Linked DNA regions of Homo sapiens: all the other regions are linked to region 4. The links are contacts of gene promoters, found by promoter capture Hi-C in blood cells and fetal thymus (Javierre and others, 2016). All regions are on one chromosome and are shown on one strand. Each heading gives the region's core, a stretch centred on a gene start or on the middle of the fragment in contact. The rest is flanking DNA. Distances are from core to core; before and after follow the strand shown.

What was found. Contacts are between HindIII fragments. The CHiCAGO score rates a contact against its expected background, and 5 or more counts as called.
Region 1: a fragment that was not itself captured here is called in contact with the fragment with the promoter of SHROOM3 in region 4 in 1 of 17 cell types (naive CD4 T cells); the score reaches 5.5 in naive CD4 T cells.
Region 2: a fragment that was not itself captured here is called in contact with the fragment with the promoter of SHROOM3 in region 4 in 1 of 17 cell types (activated CD4 T cells); the score reaches 7.5 in activated CD4 T cells.
Region 3: a fragment that was not itself captured here is called in contact with the fragment with the promoter of SHROOM3 in region 4 in 1 of 17 cell types (total B cells); the score reaches 5.5 in total B cells.
Region 5: a contact is called between a fragment that was not itself captured here and the fragment with the promoter of SHROOM3 in region 4, in 7 of 17 cell types (total B cells, naive CD8 T cells, activated CD4 T cells and 4 more). The highest score is 7.3, in total B cells.
Region 6: a contact is called between a fragment that was not itself captured here and the fragment with the promoter of SHROOM3 in region 4, in 1 of 17 cell types (total B cells). The highest score is 5.1, in total B cells.
Region 7: a fragment that was not itself captured here is called in contact with the fragment with the promoter of SHROOM3 in region 4 in 2 of 17 cell types (total B cells and naive B cells); the score reaches 7.7 in total B cells.

Annotation. Positions count from the first base shown.
Region 1 is chr4:77,334,606-77,337,305 of GRCh38, reverse strand. No RefSeq gene overlaps it. Among named protein-coding and RNA genes, the nearest start is that of CCNG2, 180 kb to the right of the region's middle. The HindIII fragment of the contact is 2,029 bases long and covers 311-2,339 here.
Region 2 is chr4:77,428,599-77,431,298 of GRCh38, reverse strand. No RefSeq gene overlaps it. Among named protein-coding and RNA genes, the nearest start is that of CXCL13, 180 kb to the left of the region's middle. The HindIII fragment of the contact is 2,412 bases long and covers 153-2,564 here.
Region 3 is chr4:77,255,999-77,258,698 of GRCh38, reverse strand. No RefSeq gene overlaps it. Among named protein-coding and RNA genes, the nearest start is that of CCNG2, 100 kb to the right of the region's middle. The HindIII fragment of the contact is 230 bases long and covers 1,335-1,564 here.
Region 4 is chr4:76,433,791-76,436,490 of GRCh38, reverse strand. SHROOM3 (shroom family member 3) reads right to left here and starts at 1,262. Exons shown (of 11, transcript NM_020859.4): 1 at 271-1,262. The coding sequence starts at 438. The HindIII fragment of the contact is 11,529 bases long and covers 1-2,700 here.
Region 5 is chr4:77,354,256-77,356,955 of GRCh38, reverse strand. No RefSeq gene overlaps it. Among named protein-coding and RNA genes, the nearest start is that of CCNG2, 200 kb to the right of the region's middle. The HindIII fragment of the contact is 4,351 bases long and covers 1-2,700 here.
Region 6 is chr4:77,379,764-77,382,463 of GRCh38, reverse strand. No RefSeq gene overlaps it. Among named protein-coding and RNA genes, the nearest start is that of CCNG2, 220 kb to the right of the region's middle. The HindIII fragment of the contact is 1,426 bases long and covers 635-2,060 here.
Region 7 is chr4:77,304,574-77,307,273 of GRCh38, reverse strand. No RefSeq gene overlaps it. Among named protein-coding and RNA genes, the nearest start is that of CCNG2, 150 kb to the right of the region's middle. The HindIII fragment of the contact is 1,085 bases long and covers 760-1,844 here.

The sequences.
Region 1 (2,700 bases), core at 76-2,575, 900 kb before region 4:
TACCTAAAACTTATCCAGGAAAAGTCTGACCGTCTCCTGTGGATTTCTGAAGAAATCCACCAGGTTGAGGAACTAAAACATCTGCTCATAACTGCCCCTGTTTTAGCTCTGCCTTCCCTAGAGAAGCCATTTCACTTTTTTGTTAGCATAGATAGGGAGGTAGCTTTAGGGGTACTTAACCAAGAAGATAGGGTCACCAGAAACTCATAGTTTTCCTATTGAGAGTTTTAGATCCAGTAGCCTGTGGATGGCCTGAATGTATTCAATCCATCACAGCTACCACCTTGTTAACTAAAGTAAGCAGAAAGCTTGCCTTTGGGGGAAACTTAGTTGTAAGCATGCCCCATCAGGTTAGAACTATCTTGAATCAGAAGGCAGGAAGATGGCTCACTGACCAAGAATTTTAAAGTATGAAGCTATCCTGTTAGAAAGACACGATTTAACCCTAACAACTGATAATTCATTTAACCCAGCAAGTTTCCTGACTGGGAATCAAATCTAAAGAGACCTGAGCATGAATGTTTAGATTTAATTATCATACAAAAGTTAGGCCTGATTTAAGAGAGACCCCTTTCAAAATGGGGCAGCACTTATAGATGGCTCTTCCTGAGTAATTGAAGAAAAGAGACATAATGGGTACCCAGTAGTCATGGGGAAGCCCTTGAAATAGTCAGAAAGACTGCCCATTAATTGGTCTGCCCAAACATGTGAATTGTTTGCATTAAATCAAGCCTTAAGGCACTTGCAGAACAAGAAGAGACTATTTACACTGATTCCAAGTACGCCTTCGGGGTAGCTCACACCTTTGGAAAAATTTGGACTGAATGAGGTCTTATTAACAAAGGCCAAGACCTGGTCCACAAAGAATTAATCACTCAGGTATTAGATAACTTCCAGTTACCAGAAGAAATAGCTATTGTCCATGTTCCAAGACATCAGAAAGGTATCGCTTTTGAAGGCCAAGGGAATAACCTTGCATATCAAATAGCCAAACAAACTGCCACTTCCTCTGAAATGCCTGTTTTTCACTTAGCCCCTTGTCTTCCTCCCCCAACTGCAATCCCCATTTCTTCTCCCGCTGAAAAAGATAAAAATAGGGAACAAAGAAAATTCATAAGGGAAATGGGTGTTACCAGATCAAAGAGAAATGTTATCCAAACTCCTCATGAGAGAAGTTCTCTCTCGTCTGCATTAAGGGACTCATTTGGGGACCTCAAGCTACATATGTTGCAGGCCTCCGGGTTTATAGGAATGTATAAGAATTTATACTTTAGCAAGACAGGTTACAGATAGTTGCCTAGTATGTAAGAAAATTAATAAGCAGACCCTCAGAAAACCACCTCTTGGGAGAAATCCAGGATTAAGACCATTCCAAAGTGTCCAAGTTGATTACACCAAAATGCCCCCAATCGGTCACTTAAAATATTAGTGATAGTAGATCACCTTACTCATTGGGTAGAAGCTATTCACCCTTTTCAAGTCCAACTGCTAACAATGCAGTCAAGACATTTGTTGAAAATACTATACCCAGGTTCAGATTAATAGAAAATGTTGATTCAGATAATAGGACTCATTTCACTACAAATGTCATTAAGAAACTAGCCCAAGTACTGGATATAACATGGGACTACCATATCCCCTGGCACCCACCTTCATCAGGAAGAGAAGAATGAACTAGACTCTGAAGAAACACCTAACCAAATTAGTCCTAGAGATTCAATTACCGTGGATTAAATGCCTTTCCATTGTCTTGTTGAGAATCTGAACTGCCCCTCCAAAAGATGTTGGCTTACCCCTTATGAAATGCTGTTTGGGTTGCTTTGTTTACACTCCACTGCTGACATTCCTACATTTGAAACAAAAGATCTATTCCCCAAAAACTATATACTTGGTCCATCCTCCACTTTCTCTTCCCTTAGAACCAAAGGCCTCCTAGCACAGAGGCCACCCCTCGAATTTCCAGTTCACCACCACCAGCCTGGAGACAACGTCCTCATCAAGGGTTGGAAAGAAGGGAAGCTCGAGCCCACCTGGGAGGGATCCTATCTAGTGCTTCTAAGGACCAAGAACAGCTGTCTGCACCACCAAAAAGGGATGGCTCATCACACTCAGGTCAAAGGAAGACCACCTCCTCCACAATCATGGACAGCTATTCCAGGGCCAGCTCCAACCAAGTTAAAGCTAAAACAGGTTTGATCCTCTTATGTTTTATTTCTTTTTCCCTTCTATTGCTAGTCACACTTTAGTATCAATGTAACCAGATCTAGCTCTCCTCAAACCATTACCTTTGATGCTTGTCTTGTCATGCCCTGTGGACATCTCCAAAGCCAAAGAAAGCTTGCCTCTTCAGAAAGGTACCCTTGCCATTCCAGGATAAATAAGACTGCCTACAAAACTGACTCTTGCACCAAGCAAGCACAAAGCAGTTATTGGAAGTTCTGTCCTAGTTGGGAAGATTTGGTCTGGACCACCAAGTATCAAGGCTGGACCTCCCCGGGAGGAGATTGCACTGACCTAAAGCCTTACATCCACTTTACCAGAGAGAGAGAACTCCCTCCAATTTTCAACTCCAACAATGTAACCCTGTGCAAATCTCTGTCACTGTCCCCAAGTCTACCGACACTAACCCCATTCTAGATCTCTATGGCCTAGGAGCTGATGCTCCTGGAATAGACCCTACAGGATCCTTTGAGATGTGCT
Region 2 (2,700 bases), core at 109-2,608, 990 kb before region 4:
TATCTATGGGAGGTCTCCTCAAGGCTTCAAACAGCATCCCTATCTGCCACTGATACTTTCATCGCCACAGGATCTGCTAAGCCATATGGCCAGTGGCAAAGCACCTTGAATGGTAGCAGAGCCTTCTCTTGTTCTGGGACCTATTCAAAGCTTATAGCTTTGAGTAACTTGGTAAGTGAGCTGGAGTAGCATACCTCAGTAAGATATGTTTCTGCGAAGATCCGAGAAGGCCAATTAGGCATTGTGCCTCTTTGGGCAGTAGGAGGAGCCATTTGCAATAAACTTTTGCCTTAGATGTACCTAAGGTGCCCCATACCACTGGGCCTTTGGAAATTTCACTTAAGTGAATGCCCTTTGATTTTCGGTGGCATTTATTTTCTAGTGTCATGCAAATGTCTTAATCCTATGTCTAGATTAGTTACTACTTCCTGATCACAAGGCCCAATCAGCATATCATTAATATGATTAACCAGCATATATTATGGAAAGGAAATGTAATCAAGATCTGTGGACTATGACATAGGGATAGAGTTGATACCCTAAGGTAGAATCGTGAAAACATATTGTCATGCTAGCTGAAAGCAAATTGCTTTTGATGGTTTTTACTAACAGGTATAGAAAATGTATTTGCCAAATCAATAGCTGCATACCAGGTACCAAAAGGTTGTATTAATTTTCTCGAATAACAAATCACATCTTCAACAGTAACTAGAGTCACCACTTGACTAAGTTTGACAATCCTGAACTGTCATTCTCCAGAATCTGTCTTCTGCATAAGCCAAATAGGCAAGTTAAGAATGTGGCAAGAAGCAGTATCCCTGCAACTTTCAAGTCCTTGATATTGGCACTGTTCTCTAGAATATGGTACTGCTTTTGGTTCACTGTTTTTGTAGGTAGAGGTAGTACTAATGACTTCCACTTAGCCTTTGCTACCAAAAAGTCTTCATTCTACAGGTCAGGGAACACACAAGGGGATTCTATTAGTTGCTGGGTATGTCTGTTATAAATATACATTCCAGACTGGGGGAATAACCACAGGATGAGTTTGGGGACCCACTTGACCCACACTGTGAATTGACCCTTAGCTAAAATTCTATGACCTGACCTTCATAAGCCTCTCCCTTCTGTACTGCAGTGATATTTTGGGTTTACAGGAGTTACTGTCAGTTCATAGTGTCTAGTTATCCCTGAGAAGCCTGATTATCTTCCTTTCCCTAGTGCATCGTCACACTGATAAGCCCTTTTGGGGAAGGCTGGAAAAAATATTAACAGTATGAACTTTTAGTCATACAGCAATATCATTCCTCAAAGAGACCAAGTCTCCCCTTCAAACGATTCTTGGTCTGAACTAGTTGATGTTTGGGAATTGATTGAGGGGCTGTGACTTTTGCTGATTCAAGTTAGACCATTTACTAGAACTCTTACTTATGCTGTTCAAGAATTTACTTTTCTATTACTTTTCTAGGGATATCGTGTTCAATCAGTGAATAGCATGGGTCTCCGAGTCAGTCTATTCTGATTACTGCTTTGGTTTTACACTAATTATTCCTGCCTGTCTCTGGTGTTTAAGTACTACCACCTAGCTTCTCCTACCCTAAGATTCCATTATCCCTATTGTATTTAAGGGTGGCAGTTTCATGGTAGCAGTTCCCAGTGTAATTTCTGACCTACAGAGAATGACAACCAAGCTCTTAGAAGGGTGCTGGGACACTCAAATTTCTCAAAGTAATAAAAAGCAGGTCCTCTAGACCCTCCTGGGGTAGGTAAAAGGGTCTTATGTGACAAATCCATTACAGGATTCCTACCTCCCTAAGCCTTCTGATACCCTTCCTCTAGAGGAGGCCCACACATGTCTAGCATTTCAACTTCATTTAGTGTAGGCCACCTTTGGGTCCACATTTTAAACAGACAGAACACTTTATAACCCCTAAAGCTAAAATAAACCTAGAATCTGTGCTTAATGGACACATGAATAAATTTAGCTTGATCCAACTTTATATTCTTTTCATCATGACCCCTCTCTGAAGATTCATTCCTACATATTCCCTGTATTTCTGTATAAAAATAAGGAAAAGTCATGCAGCTATTTTGAGATTGTGCATCTCCTCATGGGTCATACTTTGTACTTCACCCTTTAGGAGCTTTTGGAACATGAGTCTAAGTCTGGAAACAGATGCCAGGAATATACCCTAAGGAGAATCAGTGGTGCCTTGCAAAGCAACAACCTCAGACAATGGAGAGCTAACCACCCTGGGCAGGGGTAGAAGTGCTGTTTTTACCAGCCAAGGAAAATCCACAGAATTTAGGAATCTGATGTCCCCAGCTTCATTGGAATCTGCCCAAATTTCTCTATTCAGAATCCTATTTCTTTTCAATCAATGCTCTCACTTAAACAGAAGTCATCTGATGAGGCTGGGAATCCAATTCACATCGGAATTCAATCACTCACTGGATGTGATACTCTGGGTTTGACTTTTGGAAATCTTGACCCTGCAGCTATAGCAGATAAAGGGTCATTTCAGGACAGATATGAAAGTTCAGGTTATTTATACAGAGATTAAGCTTAGAATTTGAAGGCTTAAGCTCAGCCTTTTCTTTCCCAACTTTCTCCAAGGCTGTTATAAGCATTCAGCCAATCCCACTGCACTTATTTTGTTTAAAAGGTTCTAAGGTAGCAGATAAATAACTTTATCTATAGGT
Region 3 (2,700 bases), core at 200-2,699, 820 kb before region 4:
GACATGAAGTCCTTGTCCATGCCTATGTCCTGAATGGTATTGCCTAGGTTTTCTTCTAGGGTTTTTATGGTTTTAGGTCTAACATTTAAGTCTTTAATTCATCTTGAATTAATTTTTGTATAAGGTGTAAGGAAGGGATCCAGTTTCAGCTTTCTACATATGGCTAGCCAGTTTTCCCAGCACCACTTGTTAAATAGGAAATCCTTTCCTTATTTCTTGTTTTTGTCAGGTTTGTCAAAGATCAGATAGTTGTAGATATGTGGCATTATTTCTGAGAGCTCTGTTCTGTTCCATTGGTCTGTATCTGCTTTGGTACAAGTACCATGCTGTTTTGGTTACTGTAGCTTTGTGGTATAGTTTGAAGTCAGGTAGTGTGATGCCTCCAGCTTTGTTCTTTTGGCTTAGGATTTACTTGGCAATCTGGGCTCTTTTTTGGTTCCATATGAACTTTAGTTTTTTCCAATTCTGTGAAGAAAGTCATTGGTAGCTTGATGGGGATGGCATTGAATCTATAAATTACCTTGGGCAGTATGGCCATTTTCATGATATTGATTCTTCCTACCCATGAGCATGGAATGTTCTTCCATTTGTTTATATCCTCTTATTTCATTGAGCAGTGGTTTGCAGTTCTCCTTGAAAAGGTCCTTCACATCCCTTGTAAGTTGGATTCCTAGGTATTTTATTCTCTTTGAAGCAATCGTGAATGGGAGTTCACTCATGATTTGGCTCTCTGTCTATTATTGATGTATAAGAATGCTTGTGATTTTTGCACTTTGGTTTTGTATCCTGAGACTTTGCTGAAGATGCCTGTCAGCTTAAGGAGATTTTGGGCTAAGACGATGGTGTTTTCTAGATATACAATCATGTCATCTGCAAACAGAGACAACTTGACTTCCTCTTTTCCTAATTGAATACCCTTTATTTCCTTCTCCTGCCTGATTGCCCTAGCCAGAACTGCCAACACTATGTTGAATAGGAGTGGTGAGAGGGCATCCCTGTCTTGTGCCAGTTTTCAAAGGGAATGCTTCCAGTTTTTGCCCATTCAGTATGATATTGGCTGTGGGTTTGTCATAGATAGCTCTTATTATTTTGAGATATGTCCCATCAGTACCTAATTTATTGAGAGTTTTTAGCATGAAGGGTTGTTGAATTTTGTCAAAGGCCTTTTCTGCATCTATTGAGATAATCATGTGGTTTTTGTAGTTGGTTCTGTTTATATGCTGGATTACATTTGTTGATTTGCGTATGTTGAACCAGCCTTGCATCCCAGGGATGAAGCCCACTTGATCATGGTGAATACTGGCAAACCGAATCCAGCAGCACATCAAAAAGCTTTTCCACCCACCATGGATTTAAGTCATCCTTTGTCTAGGGTATCCACACCTAGCACACTACCCAGCCATTAGTTATTATTTGTTACTAAGTCAACTTCTGTGGCATTGTAGTGTTCGTCTTCCAGCAACCCTTATTTTACCTAAGTCCCAAGGTATACTAGTAGTGATGCTGGTATGTTATAGTTTTATTTTCTTATTAATCTTAGTGTGCCCAATTCATCTGTTAAGCTTTGTGTATGTATGCTTTGTGTATAGGTGCATATGTACAGAGAAAATACAGTGTATATAGGGTTAGGCATCTACAAGGTGGCCAGGGGGGAGTGGTTCTTGGATCATATCCTTGACATCAGGAGGACTACGATGCTTCCAAGCTCACTCAGTGGTAAGCTCCAGCTCTTCAGCCTGTTGGGCTCCAAGTTTCTGCTCCTTGCCATCATATGTGGGCCATTCAGTGGGGTGGCTCAAACACAGCAGCTTAGTTCTCCTAGAACACATGTTCTAAGACAAGGAGTAAGGGAAGTGATATGGTATTGTTGTGTCCCCACCCACATCTCATCTTGAATTCCCATGTGTTGTGGGAGGGATCAAGTGGGGGGTAATTGAATCATGGGGGCAAGTCTTTCCTGTGCCGTTCTCATAATAGTGAGTAAGTCTCATAATATCTGATGGTTTTATAAAGGGGAGTTTCCTTGTACAAGTTCTCTTGTCTGCCACCATGTGAGACATGCATTTCACCTTCTACCATGATTGTGAGGCCTCCCCAGCCACATGGAACTATGAGTCCATTAAAACTTCTTTCTTCCCAGTCTTGGGTATGTCTTCATCAGAAGCATGAAAATGGACTGATACAGGAAATCTAAGACAGTAGCTAGTATCTAACCATGTATTTGGAGGGACCTGCCACTTCTTCCATTGTCACTTCATCAAGCAGCAAGCCACTATATCTACTCTCAAGAGAAGGGGCTTAACACAAGCTGGAATACCAGGAGTCAAGGATCACTGGGGGCCAGCTCAGAGGCTTCCCACCTCACATGGACTATGCCATCTCCCACTCACTGGGTCATCTCTATTGTCTTGCACTTTGCCTTGTGGCTTAGCTATTCTAAGTGCCACACCTTTGTAGATCTCAGAATTAGGCACACTGCTATTGAAGGGCATGAAAGTTCTCATCCCTATGAAGGTCAGTCCAATTGATGTCCCACTTGAGAAAGAAGGGTCTGACATGATTTGGGATATTGGTCAGTTCTTTAAACATTGTGTTAACATGCAGCTTCCCAGAACTCCAGCCCATTACAGTGCTGTTATATACTGTAAAATGGATTCTACCCTGAAGCTGCTACTCCAGGAATCATAGGCTTCACAAAGG
Region 4 (2,700 bases), core at 13-2,512:
TGGTAACTGATTGTATGCGATTTCATTCACAAAAAGAGAAGATTATCCATCAAACAGGCATATTTTTCTTCGGATTTCATAGAATAAATGAGCTAGACACATTTTTCTTTCAAATCCCAGGCTATCCAAAATATTTCTAGATAATCAGAAAGGCATGAAACAGCAAATTAAGTTATATTAAGGCAGTTCTCATTATTTTGCATTTTTGACAAATCTGACAAGTTGAAAAAAACAATTTGAATAAAGGCAATATTGGAAAAAGAAACATACCTTAGAGATGATTAATGGTTCTCCGTGCTCCAGGCCACCCTTTAGAGTAAAACCCCAGGGAGCTCCTCCCTCCAGGAATGCCTCCAGATAAATGTACCTTCCCTTGGTGGCCGTGTTAGAGTTTAATGTGGCACTAGGCTTGTGGAAGTCTTCAGTGGTCCTCATCATGCCAAACACATGATCCCTCAAGTTAAATTTAAAATGCCTGAAGCAAACTCAGGCAAGCAGTGCTTCTACAGCACAAGTTGTCCCATCCTTCAGGACACACAATGGCCAAAAGAGAGGTTTGGAGAAGCAAATTCTTCCATACGTAAAATGTTCTTCCAAGCTGAACTCCAAGATGCTGAACCAGAAGGAATTTTCACTTCAACATTTCTGAATGTAAATCCTCCTCCAGGAATTCTGGGTTCTCACTGAAGCCCCCAAGTGGTATACATCTCTACTCCGTTCGTCAAAACTTCCTTCAGTGGCGCTCTGAAGATTGCTTTTCTGAGCTTTTATTTCACACATACACACACTAAAACCATTTCTGCCTATTTTACAGAGAAAATTAAAAGCATCTTACAATATAGTAAGAAAATCACAAATACTCAAAGGAATACCTCATTTTTGATTGATTATCAACCCTTTCTTCCTCTCGGAGTGAAATTTACCATTACAATAGCCTCCTCCCTCCCCAGAAGTAGCTTAAAAAGAAAGAAAGCACTTACTATGCTTCGGCTCACTTCAGAATTTTCTAACTTGTCCCGAAGAGACAGAGAAGCTGTGCTAAAACTTTTTACTTCTTTTTTTCAACAATCAGTTCATAGTTTGTTTCTTAGGAGAGAAAAAAACTTTTGCAGGATGTAGAGAAAATGAAAAAGCACGGTAAATTAATCCTCAATGGAAAAAATATGAAGGAGGCAGCTCAGTTCTTTTCTTTGGTATTTTCAGTGATGATCAGCCACTGCTGCGGCCGCCACAGCCACTTGCCTCCTCTTGAGAGAAAGAGTAAGGAAGTTAGAGGAACATGGATTAAGGCAAAGTGAGGCATTGCAACCTTTCTGCACAGTAAGCACTGCCATGCAGAATTCAGCTCACCACAAAGACCTGACAATTCAAACAGTCTTACAGTTAATAACACGTAGGAAGTTAAAAATACTATACAGATGGCTAATTGCCAAGGGATAGAAAATAGTTCCTAGAATAGCCCCGCCTCGTACCAATTAAAGGAGAATTTCAGGGAGTGAGACATAGGCATTTGTGTTTTTAAAAACCCTCCAGGCAATTCTGCTATGCAGCCAAGTTTGAGAAGCAATGCCTAAGTGATTTGGGTAAACGTTTAAGTACATGTCAAGGTGGTGGCACAAGGGCTTTTTTTTTTTCGTTAGAAGAAAATACTACCAGTGTAATATATGAAATGGGACTTTCCAATCAAAGTTCTGCTTGTTTGACTCAATAAAAACAGGAGGTGGGTTTTTTTTTCTAGGTTTTCATTGTTATCTACTCCAAGATTGTTATCCACTCTTTAAATGAAAAGAAATCTACAATGCCTTGTGGGTAAGTACTAGGTACTCGGGAAAGAATGTTGTTCTGATTTCATGTTACCAGTGTCATTTTGTAATAATGTTATATACAAATTTAACATTCATGCTTTGTATTAAAAATTTGAACAGTAGAAGATAACCATATCTAACCCAGAAGCCTCAGCTATTTAGTTATTGGAACAGATTAGAATTACTTCCAGGTAATATATGTACTAAAACTTTTTTCTGTTTAAAAGTATGGGATAATGAGAATTAAGTTGAAAACTGAAGTTAAAAACTACTGTGGGGCTTGATAACAATTATTTTGGTGTTTGTACTTATAATTAATGAAAGGCTGATATGGAAAGGCAGGTATATGATATCAAACTACACGATATTTAATTTACAACACTGGACAGGTATTGTTTGATTTTCAATGGTAACTTCACTTGAAGGGCTCAAAGACAAAAAAAAAAAAAAAAAAGTAAAACCTTATGTAATGGTAGTATGTGAATGGAAACATAAGGAAACCTAAGGTGTACCAAATGAAAGTATGTGGTAAAAATTGGCTGATTCTTAAGGGTAATTTACGCAATTTCTATTGTGGTTTTCTTTTACAGCTTAATTTGTAAGTTAGAATAAATGGAGAAACATTAGCTTTTCTTTCATTTCAAAGAACATATGTATTTTAAATAAAAGTCCTAGGTAAATGAACAGCTTTCTTTCTGAAAAAATTAATTTATGAGGCTCTTATTATGTTACTCCTAATACATTTTGTAAAAACTGGGATTTTACAGAATCCACATTTAATATTAAAAGTAACATAGCTATACAAAATTTCAGTTAGGAGGCATAAGCTCAAGAGATCTATTGTACAGCATGATGACCATAGTTATAACAATGTATTGTATATTTGGAAATTGCT
Region 5 (2,700 bases), core at 40-2,539, 920 kb before region 4:
TTTCTGAGAGGCAAAATACAGAGGATAAAGATAGAGGGTAGCTTTTTAAGTTTTAAACCCTGGACCTATCTATTATCAAAGCAAAGAAAGTCTGCCTAGTGGTCCAAACCATCTGGGGCATGGATATAGCATGCCAAGCTAATTTGGTCAATTTTGCAAGCTATAGACATGACATGTGAGAGGCATACAGACCACCCCCGCTAGACGTACCATAAAGCGGTTCAGAACACTTAGACCCTATAAACAGTAACTTCTTACATTAATCCTAGGTAGGTTAAAAGAATGGAAGTGATCGTGTAGTGGTCTCAGAATAGAACACAGTCTTGTCACTTCATGGCTTCTGTCTTGTCAAGCATCTAGTGCTGAAAGAGCTCAGATTCATCTGGGGCTCAGTAGGAAAGGTAGGGCCTGAGCAAGAAAGCCACACTGAGCATATCCACACATGAACTCAGGCAAGAGACTAAAGAGGGTAGACAGCTCCACCAGATCACTGGATTGAGGGCATGGGAATGTACCACCAGATCCCCTTCAACAAGGGCTTGTTACCGCAACTGCTTGGAGCACAGCCAGCAGCCTCCAGCCATCACCTCTACAGAGTTTGCCTCAGTTCCAAGGGCATGCCCCTTCCCCTAGCAGCCCTCATCCACTTGCTGACTACAGACATATGCAGGCCAGCAATCTCAGGCCACCATGATACAACCATGATAGGCCACCATGGAACAACCATGATGGGTCACATGCATGCCGACACTGGCCAAGGCACTTCTGGGCCCCACACTACAGTTAGCCCTATCCTGCTTTCCCATCTCTTAGACACAATTTGATCTCTAAATACCATACTTCATGCCAAATTCCACTTCAACCTGTTTCTAAACAGCCCAACCTGCAACACAGGCAAAATGGCTTTGAAGAGTATGAGTCTTCTCTCCTATGCCTGGGATGCCTAAACATGTAGTCTTCTTCAACTCTGGAACATTCAAGTGGCATGTTCTGCCCTATGCTGGCACCCCTGACACGTCATGGTTATGAATTCCTCTTGTTTCTGTAGTTACACCCTAACTCTCCCGCCTATTATAGCACTAGATTCCAGTGATCTTACCTCTAGATGGTTTCTTGCCTAGTGTATGGCTCTTTTCCAAGAACATTTCCTGCCTGGTTCATTTATCCAACCTAATACATACACATCTGAGAAACCAGAGTTTGTTTTACCTCCTTGAATTATAAAGTACCATTCACTATGGGCTCAATGGCCTATATAGAGTCCAAGAACTGGCTTTGTACATGCAGTGATGCCAAGGAGGATCCACACTGAGCCACTCAACTAGTAGTGGGAAGTGGAGGATGAGATATTCATCTCTACACCAGTGGAGTCCTCAAAGAAGAGTGCTAGAAAGTGATGCTGCATAATCCATGAGACCTTAAAAAACAATGTTAAATTTACGTAAGCAGAATATGTACCTGTAAGATAAAAAAAAAAAACACACTTTGCCAAGTCAGAACTCACTTTTAAACCTAGACCAAAACTTGAGCTTAATTACCTTATGTAGTTGTTTGCCTGTAAGTTCAACATATGGTAACAGGGACCATAACCCCAAGGAAGTCTTAGACAAAACTCTGAGAACTGCCTTGACTAGTATAATACACTGTTTAAATGCTCCAGACAGCATTTTCCAGTTGATGTAATGTCCCGTGTAATGAACCCAAGTGCCATAGACTTCCTTTGCTATCTGAAGTTACCATCTGCTCATTCATTATCTTCGGCAAGATTTTTTAGATCTGACACTACACAAATAGAAAATACACCGAGATGACCCTTTGGGTGTTTACCAGCAGATTCAGCTGCACACAAGTGCAGGGAAGAAAATCAGTGAGCTGCCGTGTGCTCTGCTGTGTCCCCACATCTCATATTCATTGTTTACTATGCTGTATAACCAATATTCTTCACATTAAGAGAAACACTAAGTGAGCCTGAGAGGCCTAGGAAGGCTCACTTGCATAGAACTTGTGTGCAGTAAAACACATGCATGGTGAAAACAGACTCTAGGACATGAACTTATTCTTTCACACAAAGTATTTTCTACACCCAGGAGATAAGTGTGGACACATTGGTTCTGGGAATGTACCATGCTGCTCCAGCATGGGTCCTTCTGAAAGACATGCCACCCTCCACTACTGTGGCCCTCAGCCACTTGGGTGTTTGCCGTTGACACAGGAAGCAGCTGACTCTGGCACTTTGTTCTGCTCCAGCACTTCAGCATCTGTTCCCCACTGAGGTCCTCTAAGCACCTTCTACTTGGAGTCATTTGCTTTGAGACCATTCTTTGAGCTTAACCCATTATCTCCCCAAACCTGCCTCCATCTACAGCTGTATGTTCCACACAGCTGTTTTAAGCAAAAAAGATTCCTATCAATTGTATGTGACACGGGAGCCAGAGTGAAGGCCCAAAGGGAGAACTTGCTATTACCATTTTTCTGCTTAGGTTTAATGAAGCATGGACAGCTGTGTCCAACTGTGATTGGACAAGGGCATGACCTAATGCCCACAGACTGAGTGGGGAAACCCAGCAAGGCCGGTCTGTTTTATTTCCCTTGGTCTCTACAGCATTCCTTCTTTCTGGGTAGGGAGCAGGACCCCTCTGGAGTGAGCATTTGATGACCTGTTTATCAAGGCAAGTCAGAATTTCTTTACGGTCAGCTGTT
Region 6 (2,700 bases), core at 98-2,597, 950 kb before region 4:
AAAAGCTAGCAGTCAAGATGTTTCATTTTAATTAAAACGGATACACTAAATTCAGGCGTGAAAGCAAGCTTGAATATCCCTTAGACACTCCGAAGGCTACTCCATTCAAAGGGAGACCATCTAAGTCAGGGAGATGACTAGGCCCATTCCTCTATTACCCTAACATGATGGATAGTAACTGTACTCCACATCGATGTGATATCTGAGGTATACGAATTCTTTCTTCCAAACAATAATCCTTACCCTCTTCCAATCCTAGTATTTCAAGATTTGTCAAGTTACTACCTCCCATTTGCTCTGGGCCAATTATTTTGGATCCCAGTTCTGTTCTTATGTTCTACTATGAGCAGTATCTTTCTACCCTTGACTCAAGTGAACTCATGACTTTCCTTGGTGAGGCTCTCTACTTATGGCTTCCATTTATGCCTCACAGAGCACCTCATCAATGAACATCCAGAACAAAAGCAGCCAGAGGAACCCAGACTGACCAGAGTGCAGGATTCATGTGTTTTGATTAAAGGATTGTTGAATTCAGACTGACTGGGACCCACATAACTGTCAAAATATGTTCTTTATCATGATGCCACTCAGCTAATCCTCCAGTGTGCATGCTGCTGCCATTTCATTTAAAGCTTCTACCAAACATTGTTAACTGACTTGTTTTTTTCTGAATGTCAGACTCAACCACAGCAGCAAGAATTTCAAGGAAAATTGGATTTTCACATTGGTTCTAGTCAAAGAGGAACCTGAGAAAACAGAACCTAGTGTTTCTTCAACTGCAGATGTTAAGCTAAAGAAGCCTAGACAAAGTTTATCTTCCTCAAATGAGTAAATCAAAGTTTGTCCAAAACCAAGTCATAAAATACCAATCCCCACTTGCCAAATGTTTTGCCCCCCACCAATAAAGTGAAAAGATGAGGTACAACATTTTGCAGAACTGGTGCCAACAATTTACTCTGATGACCAATGGACAGAAAACAGGTTTGTCAGAGACTTGTGCCTCTGCTTACAGAAAGCAAAACTATGTGTGAGGCTCATGGTGGAGGTATGAAGGGTACTCCTGAAACACAGGGGGCCAAATTGTAGTCTTATTTGATTGGCAGTGAACAAAACAGCAAGGCTTCAAAAAAGATGAGTAGGGGAAGGGACTAATAGATTTGAGGTTACAATATCAGCTCGGGACGTCATGTTGGCACCACATGCAAGAATGACTGCAAGACCTAGTCACACTAAGGCTATAGATTCACATTTCATTCCTTCTTAGAAGACTTCTTGATGCAACTTTCTAGATCAGGTGATGGTGTATGGTCCACAGCAAACCCCTTTCCACAGACATAAAGGATTGGGTTTACCTAGTTTCATGCATGTCAGTCTCAGGAGAACTTCTGTTACCAACCTGCACTTTCCCATCCCCAGACCTAGAATATGCTATGCCTTGAATGTGCTAAGAGGATAAAGATGAAGAGATCAAAGACAATGGGGGAAGGAAAAGAAACATAGTTTTAACACACCATGGGAGACTATAATATGCCACCCCAGAAAATCTATAAGCTGAAGTACATGACTGTGAACAGAAGGCAATGAAGCAGCAGATAAGAGAGAGTTCATTCCTTAAAACAATGTATCCAGCTTTACTTACTAGGCTTTATCTACCATGTGTTTACTCTCCCACAACTTGCCATCCCTGGAGACTCAGGGTCCTGTTCCATTGTCTTTCCACTTCTCTAACTGTACTACTCTTTGTGTCAGAGACCACTCATCATCCAGCAAGGCCTCTCTGTACTTTATGCCTCCCACAGCTTCGACTCCCTCATGCTTATGTTTTTGAGTTACAAGTAACCCAGCAATGTGTCATGAAGCAATGTGTCCAGGGAATTCAGCAATGAATCTGAAGAAGGACTGGCAGATCTACACTGACTGCCCCTCTGACATGCATTACAATGGTCTTTGTTATTAAAAAAAAAAAAAAAAAAAAAAAAAAAGCCTGGGGAGCCCTCTGGTCACCAGTTATCATAAACAGAGACCTTAAACCAAAGCATATAGTCATCTGGATACAAGCTTTCAAGGATAAAAGGAAACTGAGGCAATTGAACCAACTAGAAGGTTAAAGATATTCCTGAGAACAATATGCTAGGTATCGAGAAACTAACCTAGATTCCCCTGAAGTAGTTTTCTGCCCATTGCTGGCTTGTCTCACATGTGACATGCTTCATTCTAACTTCTAGTCATTTCTTCCAGTGTTTTGTCATCCTAGATACGTATTTTATCCTCTTTTCCTTGTTTCCTGCCTAGTGCTGGCTCCTCACTGAGGGAATTTGTGTGTCTTTCACCTGTCCAGTCCAAGCAGACAAATGTCTTGAAAGCCAAAGTTGGTTCTACCTCCTGAATTCAGGAAAAGCCTTGCCCTCTGTGGGTTTACCAGTGGTCTAGATAGAGTCCAAGAGCTGGCTTTATACATTCAGGGAGGCCAGAAAGGATCCCAACACACAGCCACCAAACTGGTCAGGGTAGAGAAGATGCCAAATATCTATCTTCCCATCAGTGAGGGGCTTGGAATTCAGTCATTTTTCTCTGCACTGGTATATCTTCTGTGAGACCTGAAAAGATATCCATACATATTCTGCTTATGTAAATTTAGTGTGTATGAAAAACACAAAAGATCAGGTAACTAGGTTCTAAACCTGGTTTAACACCAGAGCT
Region 7 (2,700 bases), core at 53-2,552, 870 kb before region 4:
TTCAAAGCTCTTCTTGAAACATTATCAATCAATTCCAGCAGTATCACCTTGGGTTTTAGTGGCATGCCCATCTTGATAGTATGCCCATCCCTTCACAATCTATGGTAGTCATGGGAATGTAGGCAGGGAAATGGGATGCCCTAATATGCTCAAGTCATCCAGACCTATGGCTGAGAATGACCAAGGATATAAACAGTATATGAAATAATCTCCAAAACAAAGTCAGCAGTCATTTGGCTGACAATAGGGAAACAAATGTTGAGACAGCATCGGAAAAGTGTCTGCTGTAGGACATAAACCTAGTGTAGGATCAGTGTGAGTTTATAATGCTTTTTTCACCCTTCTGTATCAACCTGGATTCAGATTTACCAGTCTACCCAGAACTCTTCTGTAACTTCACTGCCACATGAGGCTTCTATAGAGAACCTCTTTTTGTGGGATGAAGGCTCTCCTGCAGCTCCTGTTTTCTCACAGGCATCTATTGCAACAGAAAGAACAGACAGACTAACAGATACAGAATACCTTGGCCAGCTGCATGTATTCCCAAGCTTGAACCAAAGCCAGGGTCCTTGAATATTCTCAGGCACTGACGAACTTGTTTAGGCTGTTGCATCAAGCATGTTGATTAACACGTAAAGGCTAGCCCCATGCCTAGTCAAATTCTGAAGACTCAAAACACTAACCTGTCCCACTCATTGGGGACATACCCAAGATACCCTTTCACTATCCACAAGGATCCCTGCATTTTGTAAGCAAGCTTCCTGGTAGGTGTTTTAGATTTATCCCCCTGGCATTTAGTGCATTTGGATTCCCAGCTGGCCCCATCTTGGGATGGTGGGCAAGTCCCATGAGTGAACTCCCCAGCTGTTGCTTTTGGGGCAACTCCAGGTAGTGGGTTGGCTGACAGAACATGAAATAAGTTCTTGCAGCTTAGGTGGTACACTGGTAAGCATAGCTGCCTTCCAGTAAGTTCCTACATGTACAATCCTGCCTCAGTATGGGGTTCTCACAGGACCAACAACTCGTTAGTTTTCCCCCAACCCTGACTCAAGACCCCAGAACCCAGAAAGGCCCTTATACTTCGTTTAAAACTCCATGTTTAGGTACCTGCCTCTGATAGAGGCAGTCTTATGTTCAGTTCATTTCTAACCAAGTCTCTGCCTTATACTGAAATACAATCCAAGCAGACCTAGCCTGGAAACCCACACGTGGGTACAAGAAGAATCATCCAGATTATAAGAGTGAGGCTCGAATCAGTTTGTAGAGATCAAAGTGATGAGTATGTCAACAATTGCATTGTTGCATAATTACCAGGAGGTGGCAGAGAATGAGTTTCAATTCTGACCCAAGATCAACTCCAGCCACAGGAGCCACATTGCATCCCACCATCTTTCCTCAGTTTCCCCTCAAGAACAGGAGCCTGTGGGACAGTTACTTCTGTCAACTTGTACAGATAAGTGTACCTGTGCAGCACAGTGGCCACCTGTGGAGCCATTAGAATGCCATACATCCCATGTGTGGTCGTTTCCAACTGATGCCCAGGTGCAGCTGGGATGCTAAGGCCGTCCTATTTAGGACACTCACCACTCCTCTAATGGGCAATCTGGGCTCTAGTATTTGCCATCGGCCTTGCCAAGGCACTTAGTATCACCTCAGTCTAAGCTACTTCCTATCCAGTATTTTCCTTCACAGGGCCTGACCTGCATTATAAGTGGATCTACACCCAGATCTTTCCAGCTTCCTCTCCTGTATCCCTCACAGAACTTTCTCCTCCCACAACTCAAACATTCAATTCCTTTTTGGCATCTGCATGTATGAGGCCACAAGGCAGCAATGAAAAAGCTTTTAATTTCAACTAGGCACACTCAGGTACATTCAGATGTGAAAGCAAGCTTGTGTATCACTGTACACACTCCCAAGACTGCTTTATTCAAAAGAAATAGATGCTCAGAGCCAGCCACATCTCATAAAACATGGAGGAACTCAGTGATCAGTTAATAGCCATGTCCTATGGACTCAGATACTACACCCTAGAGTCACTATGTGTCTCCTTCAGAGGAAGGAAAGCCCAAATACCCTGATCAACTTTTTTTGACCTATCTGGTCAAATAAGCCAGTGAAGAGACCTACAAAAGTGCCTTCTAGCCTTTAGGTGCAGGACTTGCTTTCATGTGCATTTCTAGAGTGATTTTTTACCAGTTGGGATCAGTTGAGTTCCTGAATGTCGGTAATAGGAAGGAAGAGCTTCTAATAGGAGACTGCTATAAGTAAAGAGCAGTGCTTTACTGAGCTGAATGGGTAGATGCATTTTACCTCCCCGTGCTTTATAAAGACTGGCAAGTGCTAGCCAACTTTTCACCAGGCCAAGGCTCTGTAACCCTTTCTTCCTGAGCCTGACCCACATGTAACAGTTGATCCATTTGAGAGTCAAGTATAGAATATAGTTTTGCCAGAGAAGTAACATCAATACTCCATTCCACAGTCTGTAGCACCAGAAATGGTTCATGGAAGCTCCCCCTTGAATGTCAAGACAATTCTGTAGTTAAGTGGAATCAGGCCCTTCATCACTCAGAATCACTGGCTGCCTGTGCTCTAGGATGTTGTATTAACAGATTTCCAACTCTGGATGCAGATTAAGAACTAACCTCCAAGAGGCTATAAAGGCAGGAATGTTGCATGACCTCCATGCCCAGAGCTGTT